3 separate regions of the Homo sapiens genome follow, and regions 2 and 3 are each linked to region 1. The links are contacts of gene promoters, found by promoter capture Hi-C in blood cells and fetal thymus (Javierre and others, 2016). All regions are on one chromosome and are shown on one strand. The core of a region is centred on a gene start or on the middle of the fragment in contact, and the rest is flanking DNA. Distances in the headings are between cores, read along the strand shown.

The links. The method cuts DNA at HindIII sites, captures the fragments that hold promoters and counts their contacts. A CHiCAGO score of 5 or more calls a contact.
Region 2: a contact is called between a fragment that was not itself captured here and the fragment with the promoter of SLC35D4 in region 1, in 1 of 17 cell types (non-activated CD4 T cells). The highest score is 5.4, in non-activated CD4 T cells.
Region 3: a fragment that was not itself captured here is called in contact with the fragment with the promoter of SLC35D4 in region 1 in 15 of 17 cell types (total B cells, non-activated CD4 T cells, naive B cells and 12 more); the score reaches 11.0 in total B cells.

What each region holds. Positions count from the first base shown.
Region 1 is chr18:23,436,355-23,439,395 of GRCh38, reverse strand. SLC35D4 (solute carrier family 35 member D4) reads left to right here and starts at 1,435. Exons shown (of 15, transcript NM_032933.6): 1 at 1,435-1,615. The coding sequence starts at 1,544. RefSeq lists a silencer at 1,307-1,406. The HindIII fragment of the contact is 5,255 bases long and covers 5-3,041 here.
Region 2 is chr18:23,112,752-23,115,792 of GRCh38, reverse strand. No RefSeq gene overlaps it. Among named protein-coding and RNA genes, the nearest start is that of CABLES1, 21 kb to the left of the region's middle. The HindIII fragment of the contact is 5,021 bases long and covers 1-3,041 here.
Region 3 is chr18:23,128,870-23,131,910 of GRCh38, reverse strand. No RefSeq gene overlaps it. Among named protein-coding and RNA genes, the nearest start is that of CABLES1, 5.1 kb to the left of the region's middle. RefSeq lists a silencer at 1-186. The HindIII fragment of the contact is 275 bases long and covers 1,256-1,530 here.

The sequences.
Region 1 (3,041 bases), core at 186-2,685:
AGCTTCATCTCCTCTCTTCCTGTTCTGTATTTTTGCTTTTTAATAACCCAGTGTACTAGTCTGTTTTCACGCTGCTGATAAAGACTTACCCGAGACTTGGTAATTTATAAAGAAAAAGAGGTTTAATGGACTCACAGTTCCACGGGGCTGGGGAGGCTTCATAATCATGGTGGAAGGCAAAAGGCACGTCTTACATGGTGGCAGGCAAGAGAGAAAAAATGAGAGCCAAGCGAAAGGGGTTTCCCCTTATAAGACCATCAGCTCTGGGGAGACTTATTCACTACCACGAGACGAATATGGGGGAAACTGCCCCCATGATTCAATTATCTGCCACCAGGTCCTTCCCATAACATGTGGGAATTATGAAAGCTACCATTCAAGATGAGATTTGGGGACACAGCCAAACCATATCATCCAGTCTTGGTAGAGAAAGCTATACCCATCTGTACAAGTGGTTTGAAGGAGACTGTGGGAGAAAAGGGAGGGAAGGGGTGACCAGCCTACCTCCATCTCTATGTTGGTCCCCTCTGCAGACCAACCAGCAGGCCCAGGAAGAGACCTGTGGAAAAGTGAGCAGAGGCAAAGGACTGCGATGAGACAGTGGTGGCTGGGGAGTGGCTTCAAGGGGACAAGCCGAGGTCAGCCCTCCCTCAATGCTGGAGGGAGCAGAGAGAAACAAGGCATGCTTCTGAAAAACAGAAAAATTACATAAGGGTTGGTGTGTCGTTTTCCATCCACTGCTCCAGCACCGAGAGCCAGGAGGACTTTTGCTGTGGCTTAAGAGTGATGGTTTCCCCGTGTGTGGGTGTTTCTGAAAATCTGTGTGTTTCTACAGGCAGAGAACACTGGCACTTTTTGCTATTGTCCAAGTCCATCAATAGGTTTTCTTGCATGTTTACTAACATTTGCCGGAAGCCTCATGAGTCCAGTTTTCCACCCTATAGACTAGGAATAGGAATAGGAATAGGGGCTGTGCTTGGGAAAGGGTTCTTATTTTATAGAAATGTCAAGAGAATGGAATGACTTTAAATACAAACAAAACTCAAAAAACCTATACTCAATTCCAGTTCCTTCTTCCTTCACCTTCCCTCTTTTAAGTGAACATTTGTTGCTGTTACCTTTTTTGTGTCATTTGCCAAAGCGCTACAGACTCAGTGGAGAAAATTGGGAAAATTCAGTGAAGCACGGGTAATATTTTGGTCTCATAGTTTAGAGATAGCGATGAACATTTTTCTTTAAACACTGATGGGGTATTGTGAACTGCGGTATGCTTTTTTCCTCTTCTGCCACTTTCTACTCTTTAAAAGAAGATAAAAAAATAAAAAATAAAAAATAAAAGAAGAATGACCGTCCTTCGAGGGCGCGGCCCCTTTAAGAAGGCAGACGCCGGGGGCGGTCCCCGCGCTGATTGGCGGAGCTCGGAGCCACGTGGCCGTCTCTGGGCGGCTGCTGCCGCTGCCGCTGCTGCTGCTGCGGGGGTCGGGCGGCGGCCAGGGGATTTGGGCAGGCACCGTGGATCCCCGAGAAGGGGACGAGTTGACAGATGTGCGTGAGGAGGTCTCTGGTCGGCCTCACCTTTTGTACCTGCTACCTGGCTTCTTACCTCACGAACAAGGTGAGGGGGCGGGCGCGGGAGGCAGCGATTGCACGTGGGAGGTTTGAGTCGGAGAATCTTCCCGTGACAAACGGAGCCTCCTCCTGCTTTTTACCTCATTCTTCCTGGTGGCGATGGAGATGGAGAGCGAACCTCCTCCGTGTGTGGGATGCTCTTTCAGAAATAGGATTTGCCAGCCTGTACTGTCCCCGTTTCCTGCACTGTAAAGCACGGTACATCTCCAGGGAAACAGGATTTTTGGGCTGGCCATTTCCCGGGAACTTGGTTTGGGGCTGTGTGGACTAGTTTTAAGAGAAAGCAAGCAATTGGCTCCTGCTCCCCCGGGGAGGAAGAGTCAGAAGAAATCTGACACATCCTGCCTTTTTTCTAAACACGCCCCTGTCCCAGAGCCCCCGTGAAGTTCCAGAAGCCTTTAAATAGAAGAGATTAAGCCGTCTCCCCCTCACACTGCTGATTCCCGAATCAATTTTTTTGTACGTCTCCATTGTAAGCACTTCAGGAGTTTTTCATGGAATTATTATTTTTTAAAATAAAACATACATTTAGTTTTAGGTTTAAACTAATGTCATGACATCATGAAAACCTTTTGGTGAGGAGGCAGAGAAGCAGTGGTGCCAGCTTTGGGGTTTTGTTTTGCAAGGAGAGGGAAGCTGGCTTTAGGTTTGGTACCACGCAGGGAAAGGTTGGATCCAATAGGACCGAGTGGGCATGGCTGGGGCATTACCTGCTGGCCTGGACTCTGGGCTGGCCCCAGCCAAAGTGGGAATACAGGGTGCAAGACCACCTGGCCCCACTGTGGGGTCTTACTGCGGGCTCCCCACCTGCTCCCCGCTCTTCCTTTCTCCTCTCTTCCTCTCTGGAAAAGAACCATCGACAAACAGCATTTCCTTCTACCTCCTCTCCTACAATGAATGGCTGCCTTTATATATTCAGAGGATGCTCCCCAACCCCCTTTCCTTCTCCAGTTGATTTTTATTTTTATTTTTTTGAGATAGAGTCTCGCTCTGTCACCCAGGCTGGAGTGCAGTGACGTGATCTCGGCTCACTGCAACCTCTGCCTCCTGGGTTCAAGCGATTCTCCTGCCTCAGCCTCGTGAGTAGCTGGGGCTACAGGTGTGCGCCACCACGCTGGGCTAATTTTTGTATTTTTAGTAGAGACGGGGTTTCACCATGTTGTCCAGGCTGGTCTCGAACTCCTGACCTCAGGTGATCCGCATGCCTCAGCCTTCCAAAATGCTGAGATTACAGGTGTGAGCCACTGCGCCTGGCCTCCAGTTGATTTTTAGTTATGGCGATAAGCCTTTGAAGGTCCATAAATGCAGCCTTCCTGGGAGGCAGTGATGGGTTTTACTTCCTGGCTCCACTTACTTGGCGTTTGGAACCTTACTCTTTCTAAACCTAAGTTTCTTAACTTTAAGATGGGACA
Region 2 (3,041 bases), core at 257-2,756, 320 kb after region 1:
AGGTCCATGGAATCATCACGCTGTTAGAGACAGAATAGTGGTTGCCAGGGGCTTGGGGAAGGAGGGAATGAGGAGTTAGTGTTTAATGGGTACAGAGTTTCAGCTGGGGATATGAAAAAGTTCTAGAGATGGTTGGTGGTGATAGTTGCATACAATGTCAATGTACTTACTGCCACAGAACTATCCACTTAAAAATGGTTAAGATGGTCACTTTTATGTTATGTTTATATTGTCACTTAAAGAAAAAAAAAAAGCAACTGCTCGATGCAGAGACTAGAAGTCAAGCCCCGGCTCTGCTATTCACACCAGGGTGTGGTGGGTCTTGGCCAAGTTCATCTCTCTCGGACTCAGTGTCCCTGTGAAAGAGGGATCGTGACTATACTCTCCCCACAGTGGCAATGTGGGGAACTCTTGAGATCTGAGTATAAACCTGGGGGCACAGTGCCTGCCTGGCACATTGGGGGTACTCAGGAAGTGTGGTTATTATGGTGGTTACAGGTTTTACTATTTATTGCTTATAGAAGCAGCCCAAATGCTTCTATGGACTGTCTTTTCCCCTGCAGACACTCCCACAGAAGCATTTGGGGCACTGGCTTAACAGCAAGGTTACAGGTTAACTGACCATGAATGACTGAGATCTAGGACAGGGTGTGTGTAATCTCTCTGCGTCTTCCTGCTGGTTCAACATTCTCTCCTCCCACAAGAACCAGTTCCCAAGGGTACTCCACGCAACTTCACGTTGCCCTGCTTATCTGACCCCCAGAGGAACACTTCTTCCAGTGAAAACCTCCACAGTTCCCATTTAGACTCCTGCGGAGAGTTGCTCATTGCTGTTGACAGCAATAATAGTTCGTTTTCTTTTATTTTGATTAAATAATAGCTTGATTGGAAAGTGTTTCCCGGTGCAGCAATTAATAACTGGCTGGAGTTGCCAAGGCTGGAGGTAAGGCCAAAAGCACTTCACCCAGCTAGTCACTCATTACCCAGGAAATGTTAGACCTGGAGGCTATTCACTGCTGGTACAAACTCTGAAATTGGTAGGGAGAAAAAGGAAAAAAAGAAAAACAGCCTAAGCAATTTCCTTTTAGGTAATGAAAAGTTTAAAAATGGAGTAGCGTGTTGCCATAGCCACCATCTCTGGCTCTGGGCTGGCCTCCACGCTGGCATCCAGCGGACGGCATTTGACATGGTTTTCAGCAGAGGCAGCTGTGCCTCTTAAGTACCCATAATGAATATCTGCAGCTCCAGGCTCCCTCGGAAATCCTCAAGCCTTCACTTGTCACCTAATTTCCTCGGGAAGTGTTTCTAATTACACATTTCTTGCTGCCGGCTCCAGGTCAAGTCTTTTTGTACACAATATGCGAATTACATAAAACCACAAAACAGTGAGGGGACTCTGGAGTGATCAAAATTGCCATGTAGTTGTTTTAACTTAGTAGTTAAGCATCCGTGGGTGTAATAGGATGTCATTTGCATGAGCAAAAACAACATTAAAGGAACATCACGTGTTTCATTCTTGAGAACTCTTTGTAGGGGTCAGAACCCATTTCAGCAAGATATCTATATAACAATAGAATTTCCAACTCTAACACATGGACTGTTTATTTTAACTACAATAGCAGGGGCTTTGTAAAGAGAGACTTGTTTTGTACTGTTACCTGGGATCTGCCATTTAGGGACCTAAATGGCAGTTTTGTTTCCTGGAAGTGAAATAATCCTTATCTTTGGACTCTCTTAGTTTAGGAAATTCTCCAAGACGTAAAGCAACATTCACCAACTATTCTTAGAGAAAACTCTGAAATCTAGTTAAATTTATGTCCAGATGCTACTGTTTGGGTGTTAAGGTTTTTTTTAGAGTTGAGTAAATTGGAGGATTCTTTAGCTCTTAAAGAAGCGGCATAAATGGTTTTCTAAAAAAATGGGTTTTGACTGGACTGAGGCAACCCCCTCCCACACCGCAGTGTTTTGGAAGACTGAGCCTGTGCGGGATGGAGAGGTACGGGGGACTCTGGTTGTCTTCGTGGGGCCATGGAATTTTGCTCAAGTGAGCCCCCAGGCCATGCCCATGGACGTCCCAGAACCAGGGATGGCTGGTTCTGGCACCAGCTTGCAGCTGAGGCAAGACCTGTCCTGTCTTGAGGACATTATGCTAAGTGAAGTAAGCCAGTCATGGAAAGACAAATACACTGTGATTCCACTTGTATGAGGTACTTAGAGTCATCAGAATCATAGAGACAGAGTGGTGGTAGCCAGGGGCTGGGGGGAGGAGGGAAGGGGAGTTAGTGTTTAACGTACAATTTCAGTTTTACAAGATGAAAAGAGCTATGGAGATGGGTGGTAGTGATGGTTGCACAACAATGTGAATGTACTTAATGCCACTCAACTAACTGTACCTTAAAAATTGCTAAGATGGTGGCGGGCTCAGGGACTCACTCCTATAATCCCAGCACTTTGGGAGGCTGAGGTGTGCAGATCACCTGAGGTCAGGAATTTGAGACCAGCCTGGCGAACATGGTGAAACCCTGTCTCTACTAAAAATATAAAAATTAGCTAGGTGTGGTGGCTAATTAGCTAGTCCCAGCTACTCAGGAGGCTGAGGCAGGAGAATCGTTTGAACCCAGGAGGCGGAGGTTGCAGTGAGCTGAGATTGCACCACTGCACTCCAGCCTGGGCGACAGAGTGAGACTCTGTCTCACAAAATAAAATAAAAAATTGCTAAGATGGTAAATGTCATGCTATGTATATTTTACCACACAGACACATATACACACAATGGGGAAAGGAGAGAGGAACCTATCCTGACCCCATTCCCTAAGGAACTTCAGCAGGAAGTAGCAGTCACTGCAAGAAGTGTCTTTTGCTCCAGGTTTCCCTCTGCCCACTGACCCTCCTCCTCTCAGTCTCCAAATGTTGAGTGTCCCCAGGCCAGTCCAGGACTTCTCCTGTCTACACTCGCTTCCTAAGTATCTCATCCAATGACAAGGCTCTATGAGCTGTGACAGATTCTGTCTTCCAGAGTTGGTCCCAACAGTATCTCCCAT
Region 3 (3,041 bases), core at 144-2,643, 310 kb after region 1:
TGCGCCCTCTGCTGGTGAAGATGTTTAATGGTAGAGAATAGTGTCCAGATTTACTCTTACATCCATACTTGAGGTCAACTATTACGGAATAATACAAGCTTTGGAGTAAGAGGATCTGGGTTTCAAGAGCAAGCTACTTACCCTCTCTGAGTTAGTTTTCTCTGTGGGTTATTGTTAGGTACAAATGAGACTACCTGAGGAACATTTTACAAACTTTAAAGTACTTTTTAAAATGTCCGTTGTTATTTATACCATCCTAATCTACTTAGTCCCTGAATTATTCCAAATTCATTTATTTTTCAACTACTTAGTCATTGATCAAGTTTTACCAAGCAACTTCTACATCCACAGTACCATCTGTGACAAAGGGATAAAAAGAAATGTGGCCCTTAGCCCTTGTGACCTTGATAGTTACAACCATGGAAAACACATTTAAATGAAAATGCAAAGCCAACCCTGATTAAGTTTCAAATGCGCAACTGGACTATAAGCATTATCAGAATATGGAAAAGAAGTTTTTTGTTTTTTTTTTTGAGACGGAGTCTCGCTCTGTCGCCCAGGATGGAGTGCAGTGGCACAATCTCGGCTCACTGCAAGCTCCACCTCCCAGGTTCACGCCATTCTCCTGCCTCAGCCTCCCGAGTAGCTGGGACTACAGGCGCCCGCCATCACGCCCAGCTAATTTTTTGTATTTTTAGTAGAGATGGGGTTTCACCGTGTTAGCCAGGATGGTCCCGATCTCCTGACCTCGTGATCCGCCTGCCTCGGCCTCCCAAAGTGCTGGGATTACAGGCCGACCGGAAAAGAAGTTTTTTATTTGCAGTGTGGGGGAAGGCCTTAGGCAAGAGCCAGGATTTGAGCTGATCTAGGAGATTCAGGAGGCCAGGAGGAGGATCCTTGCAGAAGAGGAAGTTTGGCATACAAATTCCTCATGCATAGCAGGCCTGGAGGACTAGAACTTGAAACGTGATTCTACTTGGTCAGCCACGTTCCCCCTTCTCCCCCTTCCCTTTTATATTGCCCCTTTCAAGTGCCCATTCTGAAACTTTGTAGCACACATGAATTCAAAATGCATGTACTGTTTTGATGGAGACATATTGGAGGTTAGTTTTTAAAAAGAAAGGAAAAAACAACCTACATGTAATCACTGGCCCTTCAAAAAAATAATTCAGCAGACTGAGAAGTCTGAAAATTAGCTTAGGCTCCTAGAAACATGCGACCTTGTAAGGTCTCCAGTTTGTGGATATTACAAGCTTTGTTCCTTGGTGGCCTCACCTACCTTATCTATGGATGAAGGTAGGTTTTGCAATATTTTACCTTGCAGGGTTGTGAGGGTTACCAACAATATAAATTATGTAACTAGCAGAGTACCTGTAGTTCAGTGGGTAGCTATTATTAGAAAAATGCAAAATACAGAAGGTGAACATTAAAAAGGCCAGAATATTTTAGGTTCTAGGTTTTTATAGTTTTCACTGATCCTGAGACCAGTGAAATATTAGCATGCCTTTCCAGGCAGGAACATGAGAAGCTTCAGCTGTTAGCTCCTGCTTAAATCAGATTATTTTACGGTATTTTCCATGAAAGTACAGGCTGGCACTGGACTGTCGATCTAACAGGCATAGTCTCCCTGAGAAACCTGCTGCTTTCCTTAATCCAATGAAAGTTAAATCCTGGCTAGGCGCGGTGGCTCGTGCCTGTAATCCCAGCATTCTGGGAGGCGGAGGTGGGCGGATCATGAGTTTGGGAGTTCGAGACCAGCCTGACCAACATGGTGAAACCCCCGTCTCTACTAAAAATACAAAAATTAGCTGGGCGTGGTGACGCGTGCCTGTAATCCCAGCTGCTCAGGAGGCTGAGGCAGGAGAATCGCTTAAACCTGGGAGGTGGAGGTTGCAGTGGGCTGAGATCACGCCACTGCACTCCAGCCTGGGCGACAGAGTAAGACTCCGTCTCAAAAAAAAAAAAAAAAAAAAAGAGCTGTATGCACAGAGTTCAACTGGTCCCCAGCCTACCCCCTAGAATAGAGGCTTTTTCAACTTTTGTCCCCAGGGCCAGCCATCTAGGACACCCTCTTCTCCCTACACAGGAGAAAATGCCAAGGGGACATGGTGTCCCTGCTACTTCCTGCCAAAGTTCTGTCCTTCAAGTCTCCTCTTCCTGCCCGAGAACCTGCCCTTCTCTCAATGATTGGCACCAGCAGCCCCTGATACTGTCGTATCATAGGCCCAGACAGGATTCTTTTTGTCTCTGGACCTCTGACACTATGTGGAAGAAAGAGGAAGAGTGATATTTTACTGCAGTTCCTTCCAGCTTTTATAACTTGTGTGAGAAGCCGAGAGAAATAGGCGATGGGGCATGTCCTTGGGACTGTAGGGATGGTCATATAAACATGTGTCACTCATTATCAAGGACAATAGTTCAAGCCAAGAATGGATGTAAGTACCTCGTCAATCTGGGAAGAAGTGTCAATGTTCCAGATAACCCTTCCTCATCTCCACTGTCTTTTTAGAGTATATATCCAAAAACAATAGTGCAAATGCATTTATTCTTCAAGTTTCCTCTGAGTCATCAAAAGTCTCCCTTCCATGCAGCTCAGCCAATCATGGAGGAGAAGGGGAGGCATTGGGAATGGAATGGTCCATTCAATAAGCTCTCCAAAAGAACGTCCTGTGCGGCACAAGGGTGCGGCTTGGGTTTGTCGATCCAACTTATCACTAGCTCTGGGACCTCTAGGTTTCAGCTTCTACATCTTCAGACTAGAGCAAATCCTATCTACCTCACATGGTTATGATGCAGATTAGAAACAAGGCCTGCATAAAACTCCTAGCAAGTGTTGAGTACACAGTGGGTACTCGTGAGTGGTGGATATTACCATGATTCAGAGGCCTGCTATTGACACTGAACCCCAGAGGACCAAGCTGCTCAGCAAGTGAGTGGTAGACGTCCTGTGACATTTTTAATTTTAATTCTTAGTTTTGAGACGGGGTGTCACTCTGTCACCCAGGCTGGAGTGCAATGGCAGGATCATGGCTCACTGCAGC